3 separate regions of the Homo sapiens genome follow, and regions 2 and 3 are each linked to region 1. Evidence: promoter capture Hi-C in human tissues and cell types (Jung and others, 2019). All regions are on one chromosome and are shown on one strand. Each heading gives the region's core, a stretch centred on a gene start or on the middle of the fragment in contact. The rest is flanking DNA. Distances are from core to core; before and after follow the strand shown.

Evidence for each region. The method cuts DNA at HindIII sites, captures the fragments that hold promoters and counts their contacts. A contact is called where the count stands out against the background at its distance.
Region 2: a fragment that was not itself captured here is called in contact with the fragment with the promoter of RELN in region 1 in 6 of the 25 tissues and cell types used here (bladder, heart left ventricle, hippocampus and 3 more).
Region 3: a fragment that was not itself captured here is called in contact with the fragment with the promoter of RELN in region 1 in 2 of the 25 tissues and cell types used here (pancreas and thymus).

What each region holds. Positions count from the first base shown.
Region 1 is chr7:103,988,050-103,991,164 of GRCh38, reverse strand. It overlaps RELN (reelin), which reads left to right and starts at 1,507. Exons shown (of 65, transcript NM_005045.4): 1 at 1,507-2,034. The coding sequence starts at 1,809. The HindIII fragment of the contact is 8,012 bases long and covers 1-3,115 here.
Region 2 is chr7:103,945,158-103,948,272 of GRCh38, reverse strand. The region is part of intron 1 of RELN (reelin); the gene reads left to right. Among named protein-coding and RNA genes, the nearest start is that of RELN, 43 kb to the left of the region's middle. The HindIII fragment of the contact is 3,688 bases long and covers 1-3,115 here.
Region 3 is chr7:104,034,128-104,037,242 of GRCh38, reverse strand. No RefSeq gene overlaps it. Among named protein-coding and RNA genes, the nearest start is that of RELN, 46 kb to the right of the region's middle. The HindIII fragment of the contact is 9,244 bases long and covers 1-3,115 here.

The DNA.
Region 1 (3,115 bases), core at 258-2,757:
GGGATATTTTTTGCCTCTCCAGTTGGTGTTAGGATTAAAAAGCTAAAGTACGTCTAGCCCCACAGCCTGCACCCCGCAGAGCTACAGTGTAGCAATTGTTACCACATCATATATATATATATGCACATACATATATGTATACACTGTATATTATTTATATGGCAGTTAAGCCTCTGGGGATTTTGAAGTAAGGGAAACAAGAAGCCAGCTAGAAATGGGCCCTTTCTACCTGTCATTCGGTCTCAGTAAGAGGAAGAAAAACAATTTCTTCCTTTTGCAACGAAGTGATTACAGAGGTCTCCCCTTGGACCCTGATTTTCACCGCCCCTCGCCCCACAAATGCAGGCAAAGGCACTATCCCTTCCAATTTTATAATCTACTCATTTCTGTACGTGCGGGTTTATCTGGCTTGGTGGCAAGCCAAGGGTGGGTGGGGAGAGGCATTAAAACCTGGCAACCCCGCTCCCCCATCTCCGGATGCCGCAGGGCTCCTGCCAGCCGTCCTCGGTTAAAAACGTGCTTATGGATTATTTCACTTCCCTGCAGTTCATGTGCAGCCGCTCATTACCACCCGCTTCAATCACCGCTGCCAGCATCTCCCCTGAACGTTTTTCCCTCCCCCGATTTCAGGGCCATTGGTCATAACCGACATTTAAAGGAAATAAACACTGATTTAAAAAATTACAACACCCATCTCTGCCTGAAGAGCCCAGAAGCAATGAATAACAGAACAGTCCGGCGAAGAGAGCCTGTCGGATCTTAGCTCCGCCAGCCCTTCCTGCCTTACAATTCCCCACAACCGAGCAGCACAAATCACCATTTCCAGGCACCACTCGAGTCTGCCAATTCCACTTTCGCTTAATCTCATTTTAAAATCCTCTACAGATGAGGCTCTGTCGCTGCCGCGAGGGGCCGGGCGGCCGCGGCGGGAGGGACAGGGGGCCTGGGTGGGAAGGGAGCGCGAGGGCCCCTAGCGGTTCGCGGCCTCGGGCGGATTCCCAGAACGAGTGCGGGCCGCCCGGACTGGCAGACTGCGAGCCCCGAGGGGCGCGGGACGCAGCCGGCTCAGACAAAGAAACCGGCGCCAGCGGCCGTCCCTGCCGCCCCTCTCCTTCCCTCACGCATCCTCCCAGGAAAAACAGGGCACACTGACGGCCAAAGGGGCTGGCCTTCCCCTTCAGACAGCTGGACGGGAGGTGCCCTCTGCGGGGCTTTGACGTCCCTCGCAGAAGAGTCGCGGGCTCAGCGGTCCTCGACAGCGTCCCCGTCCCGCTCCCCGGCGGGCGCCCCTCCCTGTCCTCCCGGGTGCGAACCGGGCGCTGGCCGGGGACTCCGGGGACGCGTGCGCCCCTCGCCGCGCGAGGTGCCGCCGAGCCAGCCCGAGAGGGCGGGGGGCGGGCGGGGCGGCGCGCGGGGGCGGGGGAGCGGCCGGGACACGTGTGGCGGCGGCGGGGGGGACGCGGCGCCCGGGGCTTTAAGAAGGTGTGGAGCGGGGCGGGCGCTTTCCCAGGCCTGGCCGAGGGGCGTCGCGCAGAGGCGGCGGCGGCGCACGGAGGCGGCAGACGACGCGCTCTCGGCGCCCGCAGCCCCGGTCCCGCGCTCCCGCGGCCCAAAGTAACTTTGGGAGCCGCCGTCTCCCGCGGAACTTCTCGGCGGGGGCCCGCTCCCAGGCCCGCTCCCGAGCCCGTTCCGCTCCCGTCCGCCTTCTTCTCGCCTTCTCTCCGCGTGGCTCCTCCGTCCCGGCGTCTCCAAAACTGAATGAGCGAGCGGCGCGTAGGGCGCGCGGCGGCGGCGGCGGCGGCGGCGGCATGGAGCGCAGTGGCTGGGCCCGGCAGACTTTCCTCCTAGCGCTGTTGCTGGGGGCGACGCTGAGGGCGCGCGCGGCGGCTGGCTATTACCCCCGCTTTTCGCCCTTCTTTTTCCTGTGCACCCACCACGGGGAGCTGGAAGGGGATGGGGAGCAGGGCGAGGTGCTCATTTCCCTGCATATTGCGGGCAACCCCACCTACTACGTTCCGGGACAAGAATACCATGGTAGGTACCGCAGCACCTCCGCGCTCGCCGCCGCCGGGTGCGCCCGCCAGCGCACCTTTCTCATCCCTTTCCTTCTTCCAAGGGGCCTTGGAAACAAGAACCATGACAACCCTGGCCCCAGCGATGCGCTTGGTCCAGGGAGCGAGAATAAAGTTAGTGGAGAATGGAGTCACAAGTTGGGATTCATTCTCCATGTCCCCACTCCCCGAACGCATCTCCTGGTAATGAGCTGGTGCTTGTGCTAAACGCCTGAGAATTCTTGGAGGCCGGTGTCTTTCCCCCTCACTCCCCGTACTTACCGCAGGCACTTTAAATTGAACCTGCGCATTTTGTTTCTTTACTCCTAGGACTTGGATTTCAGACCTTTGTCCTGCTCCCGGTCCCCCCAGATGGGTCCCCGGGGGGGCGTTGGGGGCTGTCGCTGGGCTTTGCGGGCAGGCTGGTGACAGATTGAAGCGCCCAGGTCTGTGGCTGCCCCGCGCCGCTCGACCGCAAAGTTCCCGCTGCTCACCAGCCAGGAGTCCCTGGCATTTCATTCAGTGTCATACAGCCCTCCTGAAAGGGAGCGGCTGCTTCCAGCTCCCTATTCTTTTGAAAGTGTGATTTAATATGTCAGTAATTGATGATTTTTCTGATTCCTGCCTTACTTTTACATGGTGCTTCTTGTTAGAATTATCTTTGTGATGTTTATTAATGACTTTGTATTTTATCTGCACAGCTTTAATTTCCAGGTAGAGGCTGGAATCCCTTATAATTTAGAGGTATCTTAAAAATGGAATCATTATGCAGCCCTGCATCAAAAATAAACATTACAGAAGAAATAAAATTTAGCTCCAAGAAATATAATATTATGTAGTACATGTATTTTAAGCTAGTACATCGAGTATGTGGAAAAATAAAAAATGTCTCTTTTCTGTATTTCTTCTGGGACTTCTGAACATTTCATGCCTATAGAGCTTTTAAGCAGCGACAGGCACTATTTAATTAGAATTTCAACCCCAAAATATTTATACCCAACCAAATAGAAACCATTGTCCAGTAGGCTCCTGTTAATAGTTTCTATCTCTAATAGGCTAACAAT
Region 2 (3,115 bases), core at 456-2,955, 43 kb after region 1:
TCACCAGCACCTAGAATGTGATTCTAGTTATGAAAATGTAGTACAAGGCATCTAAACAAAATACAAGTAGGTATTAAATGTTTAAAAATGTTTCACATGTTGTATTGAATATTCTTATTGCATTAATGATTATAATGGTTATAGACACTAACAGTGTTAAACATCAATATACTTGTAAATATGCTTGTTTATGCCTTTGTGTATCTGTTCTGAATTTTCATTACTGAAACAAAAGTAATGTTATTCATCTGATGAAAATGATTATTTTTTATACCTTTTTCTTTGTTGTAGTTTTGCTATCTGTGTAGACAGAAATTAGCTTATTTTAAAAAAGGAAAAAGATCATTTCATGCTAAAAATCCATATCAATGTGAAAAAGTTAGAAATTTCAGAGGAACAAATGCCATTGCAACTATAATTCTCCTAAGCATGATTGACATTGTAAGGGGTAATATTTAATATATGATAATTTCTCATTTACATATGCACTAGAGTCAGATTGCAGCTGCACTGGGAAATATAATTTTTATATTTTATGAATGGAATATTTCTGTTGTAACACACAACATTTTACTATGTTACTGTATTTACTTGCTGGGACTGCTGTAACAAAGTACTACAAACTGGGTGGCTTAAATAACAGAAATTTATTGTCTCACAGCTCTAGAGGATAGAAGTCTGAAATCCCCAGGCAGATTTCTTCTAGAGCTGTGAGACAATAAATGAGAGAATGATCTATTCCAGGCCTTTTTCCTTGGCTTGTAGATGGCTATCTTTTCCATATGTTTCTTCATATTGCATTCCTTTTATGCATGTCTGTCATTAGATCTAACATTTGTCTTTTTGTAGGGATATCAGTCTTATTGAATTAGGATCCACCCTAATGATCTCACTTTAACGTGTTTACCTCTGTAAAGACCCTATCTCCAAATAACATCACATTCTGAGTATTGAGGATTAGGACTTAAGCAAATGATTACTTTGAAGGGAACCATGATTCAACCTGTTACAGTCACCACTGTTTTGTATCTGGTGCACAAAAGTACTTCCCTGCTAGGGTTAAAAGAACTGAATATGTTGTAAGGTATAATGAGTCACAGTTGATTTCCTTGAGACTTTTGAATGATGAGATATATGTAAGAATAAAGCATTATGACTGTTGTTTAGTTTTTAAATGCCAACATTAGTTTTAAGATGGCTGAGAGGACTCGGAATGGGTGAATTCATTTGGGGGGATATTATCCTATTATTTCCACAGCTAGTGTTTAGAAGATTTACTAGACTAACATTCTGACACTAATACTTTATACTGCCTAAAATGCCTTTAGCATACCACTTACATTTGTCTAGGGGAGTTCATGAAAACCAGATTTTTAGTAAGCTTCTACAAATAATTCATCATGGATGAAAGGCAATCACATTGCAAAAGCGCTTACTTCTGCTTATCATGAGTGTTTTTTATTATCTTTTTGCATCTGAGACAAATGTGTCAAGAATTTCATCAAAAGCTTAATGCATTACAATCACGTTCTCCTCCAACATACAGATCACTGTGGATTCCATAACCAGAATTCTAAGAAAGTATATAGCAACTCTATTGTTATTCAGTTGTAAGAGACATAGTAAAGTGTAATAATTCCAAGAGACTGTAGAAGCACTAGCATTAAATATTAAACATTTAAATGAGGAAGTGCTGATTAATTCATAATATTCTGAGCAGCTCATGAATGTTTAATACTCATATCTTGCCTTGATTGGATATTATTTAACTGAAGCCATGGTCACTATAGAACTACTTAGTTACCATTTTAAATTACAGACCCAGTTTACAAAATGATTCGTTTTATTTTAGGTAAATACTAATTTGAACTTCTCACCTTTTTTTTGTTCAATGTTTCATAAACTAGAGCAGAATGAAAAATTAAAGGTTTATCTGTTAAACATTTTAAGCCATAGTTATCTTAAAAAGTTGTAGTTGAGGTTAAGTTTGCATAGTTTTAATAAGTGAGTAATAATAATAGTTTTAATTAGTTTTAGTAAGTAAAAGTACCTTAGGATAACTTTACATTGATTTCAATTTTTAGGTGTTCTACTATCATTAAGTAGATATTATTCAGCACCTATTATGCGCTCAGCACTGGGAAAACAGTAGCACTGAACAAGGCAAACACAGTCAGTGCTTTATGAAGCTTCTGGTCTTTTGAGAGATTTAGAGATTGAACAAGTAATCACAGCCATGCATTGCTTAACAATGGGGATGTATTCTGAGAAATGTGTCATTAGCAATTTTGTCATTTTGTGAACATCAGAGTGTACGGCACTTACAAACTTAGATGGTGCAGCCTAGGAGACACCTAGGCTGTGCAGTCCAGCCTTGTTGCTCCTAAGCTAAAACCTGCACAGAATATTACTGCACTGAATACCAGAGGCAATGGTAACATAATGGTAAATGTTTGTGTATCTAAAGATACCTGAATGTAGAAAAGGTACCGTAAAAATATGGTATTATCATCTTAGGGGACCATTGCCGTATATGAGGTCCATCACTGGCCAAAATGTCTTTACGTGGCTCTTGATTGTACTCAAATAATTATTTAATTACAGTATGGTAAGTGCTAAGCAGGAGGAGTGTGAGGTTTTGAGGGAATATTTAATGGAGTTTGTAACCTGGTTACGGGGATTAGGGAAATCTTCCCTGAGGAAAAGGAAGTATCATGTGGCTTGTTGGCCAGAGGAACAGCTAGAAGGAAGAGCATTCTTTGCAGGGAGGGGGACCATACATGAAGGCCTGAAGGCTCGTCTGTCTTCGGTAGGGGGTAAACTGAATCAGGTATGAAGGCCAAAATAATACTACAGTTGAGAACTGGTTTTCTTAACAGATTAGGATCAGCTGTTGGAAAGTGTCTGAGAGGCCTAGAGAATCAGGAGTGTAATCTCTGTAATAATGGATTATGAGTGTTCATGGTCAAGACTGATCCTAGGTAAGGGAATAAAATGACAGGATTTCTTTGGCAGGGGTTGGGTTAGGTGAATTTTGTCAATTTTGTCAAATTGGTCAATTTTGTTCTGCTGTTCTTTCCCCTTGTAGGTCTTTTGAGAGCTCCCTCTGGGAGCT
Region 3 (3,115 bases), core at 348-2,847, 46 kb before region 1:
AGAATGGAGTGCAGTGGCGCAATCTCAGCTCACTGCAACCTCTGTCTCCTGGGTTCAAGTGATTCTCCTGCCTCAGCCTCCTGATTAGCTGGGACTACAGGCATGTGCCACCATGCTAGGCTAGTTTTTTTGTATTTTTAGTAGATATGGGGGTTTCACCATATTGACCAGGCTGGCCTTGACCTCCTGACCTCGTGATCTGCCCACCTCAGCCTCCTAAAGTGCTGGGATTATAGGCATGAGTCACCGTGCCCAGGCTTTGATGCTGTTTTTTATCTACAGCTAAGAAAAACCTGGGACTTTAATGTGGTTGTTCAAGGTTCTTCTTTTGCTCTTTTTGTTTTTTTCTCTTATTGGTAATCTTACTAATGTTCAGCATTTCCACTATGGCCTTTGCAAGGCTCTCTCTGATATTCATGTTTCTATCCCTGACCTCCCTCCTAACCTTCATTCAGGCCACCTTTCTCCATAAGCAAGCCCTGCAGGGATCCTCAAACTTAGGATTCAGTTTGAATCCAATTCAGACTTCACTCCCAATATATCTATTTTTCTTGCCTGCTTCTCTATTTTTCAAGTTTCCCTGCACCTTCACACTTTTTGGGCCTTCACTTAATATACTCTCTCTGCCCTGAGAGCCCCATGTTAGACTTTCCTCACCTTCAAGGTCCAGAACAGGTCTTTCCTCCTCAAGAAACGTTCCAGTCAGGTGCAGTGGCTCACACCTGTAATCCCAACACCTTGGGAGGCCAAAGTGGGAGTACTACTTGAGCCCAGGGGTTTGAGCCCAGGGGTTGCCCAAAGTGGGAAGCATAGTAAGATCCCACCTCTACAAATTTTTTTTTTTAAATTAGCCAGGCATGGCAGCAAATGCCTGGGGTCCTAGTTATTCAGGAGGCTGAGTTAGGAGGGTCCAGGAGATTGAGGCTTCAGTGAGCCATCATTACACCACTCCACCCCAGCCTGGAGAAGAGAGCAGGATCCCATCTCAAAAAAAACACAGCATTCCCAGTAGAAGGTATTTTCCTTCCTTCCATTCCTTTCTTATAGACCTTTTCATGGTCTGTCTTGATTGACATTATTTTTGTTTATATGTGTCTCTTCCTTCTGAACCTGAGAATGCACAAGTGCACTGCAGGAGTTTCTGAATCTTTTGAAATTGTATGCAAAATGTTGCCGGTATTTAAGTGCATGTTTCTAGACCACTGACTTCAAAATCACCTGAGGAATTATATATGTATATTTAGAGCTAAAAGTGCATATCCCTTGTGAGGCTGAGGCAGGAGAATCGCTTGAACCCAGGAGGTGGAGGTTGCAGTGAGCTGAGATCGCGCCACTGCACTCCAGCCTGGTGAAAGACCAAGCCTCCGTTTCAAAAAGCAAAACAAAAAAACCACAACCAACAACAAAAAACAAAATGCATATCCCAGGGCCCTATCACAGGCAACTGAATTCAAGTCTCTGGAGGTGTGAAAGTTGTAGATAATGAGATGAAATCACCTTTGCCAGACCTAGACAAAATAAGGCCAGAAACACATGAAGGGGAGAGGAGGCACATGCTTTCATGTCCAAAATAAGAACTGTTTCCAAGGGCTTTCAAAAAACTCCCCAAGAAACTCGTTTGCATCCTTCACACATCACCTGCCTATGACAAGGTTTATCACTAGACATTCTTTAGGACTGCCGTAATTCAGATAAGATGCTTGCGAAAGAACACTTACCCAGTGACATTTTCACCAATGAACTGACATTCACTGTGGCTTTGAGCCTCTGGAATGAATGAACTCTGTTTTTTGCTGTCTCGTTTTTCTAATGCCACATCTTAACACATGTTATCAGGGACACAAGCATCAAATATATATTTGAGACCAATAACTGATATTGACTGAAACTGAATCCCAGAATCAAAGTCTTTTTTCAGAGCCAGAAAGAATGACAGACAGGTGAAAGATAATGTTTATTGAGTAATTCTTCTGTGCCAGGCACACTTCTAAGCACTTTACAAATATTAACTCATTTAATCCTCACAACAACCCAATGACCAAGTTGCTATTATTGGCAACATTTTAGGATAAGGAACCTGAGGCACACAGAAGTTGAGCAACTTCCCCAATGTCACACAGCTGTCAGGTGGCAGGCTGGTATTGAAGTCAAAGTCATGCGCTTCCAGACCTTACATTTCACCTCTGCATTTTATATTTATCTAGGTTATTCTAATGCAGGCTAACCTCTGAGAACCACTGCTTTAGACTGTTAAATAAAATAGGAGTGCAAATACCTGAGATCTAATCATCCTACTGTTATAAAACCAACAGGTTTGTGTGTCCATTGTGCAGTAACAGACCAATGCACTGAGACAACAGGGATGCAACTGAGAAAGAGTTTAGTGATTGCCAGGCACTGAGCCAGGGGATGGGAGGAGACCCTCAAATCTATTTCCCTGAGGAGTTCTGGGATAGGGTTTTTAAGGGGATCATGGAAGGTGAGGGGCTGGAAAATTGGGATTGTTGATTGGTCGGGGCAAGGGGGATGATATAATCAAGATGTGGAAACTGCTTTCTTTGGTGAATTGGCTCCTCATGGGGTTCTTCAGACTAGCTGAGTCAGTAGTTTCATCAGCATACAGGACCTGAAGGTCCTAAAGCAATATCTCAAAGGGAAAACAACATTTAATAATGTTCAAGTTGTTATCTATAGAGCAGTTAAGGGGAACTCTAATCTTGTAATAGGATCTACATGATTCTGAGGTAACAGGCACCAAAAGACTATGAGGAAGTAGTCAGAGAGCAAGCTCACCTCATGATTAATGCTGAATGTGCTGCAAACTTGGTTTATTTTCATTTCTCCCTCTCTCTTCTTCCCTGATTAATTTTATAAAGTTTATAGGGGTCGTTTCAATACTGTGTGACCATCGGAAATCAATGAACCTCTATGGGCCTCAGTATACTTATCTGTAAATTGGAGTTGGGATTCATCCTTTTAATGGCTTGACTATAACCATAGCTATTTACTTATTGGTTGTCGTGATGTCAGGCCTTTCTCCAAGCTTCCAACAACACTGAAAGTCAGGCCAGCTGTGGTGGCTCATGCCTGTAATCCCAGAAATTTGAAAGGCTGG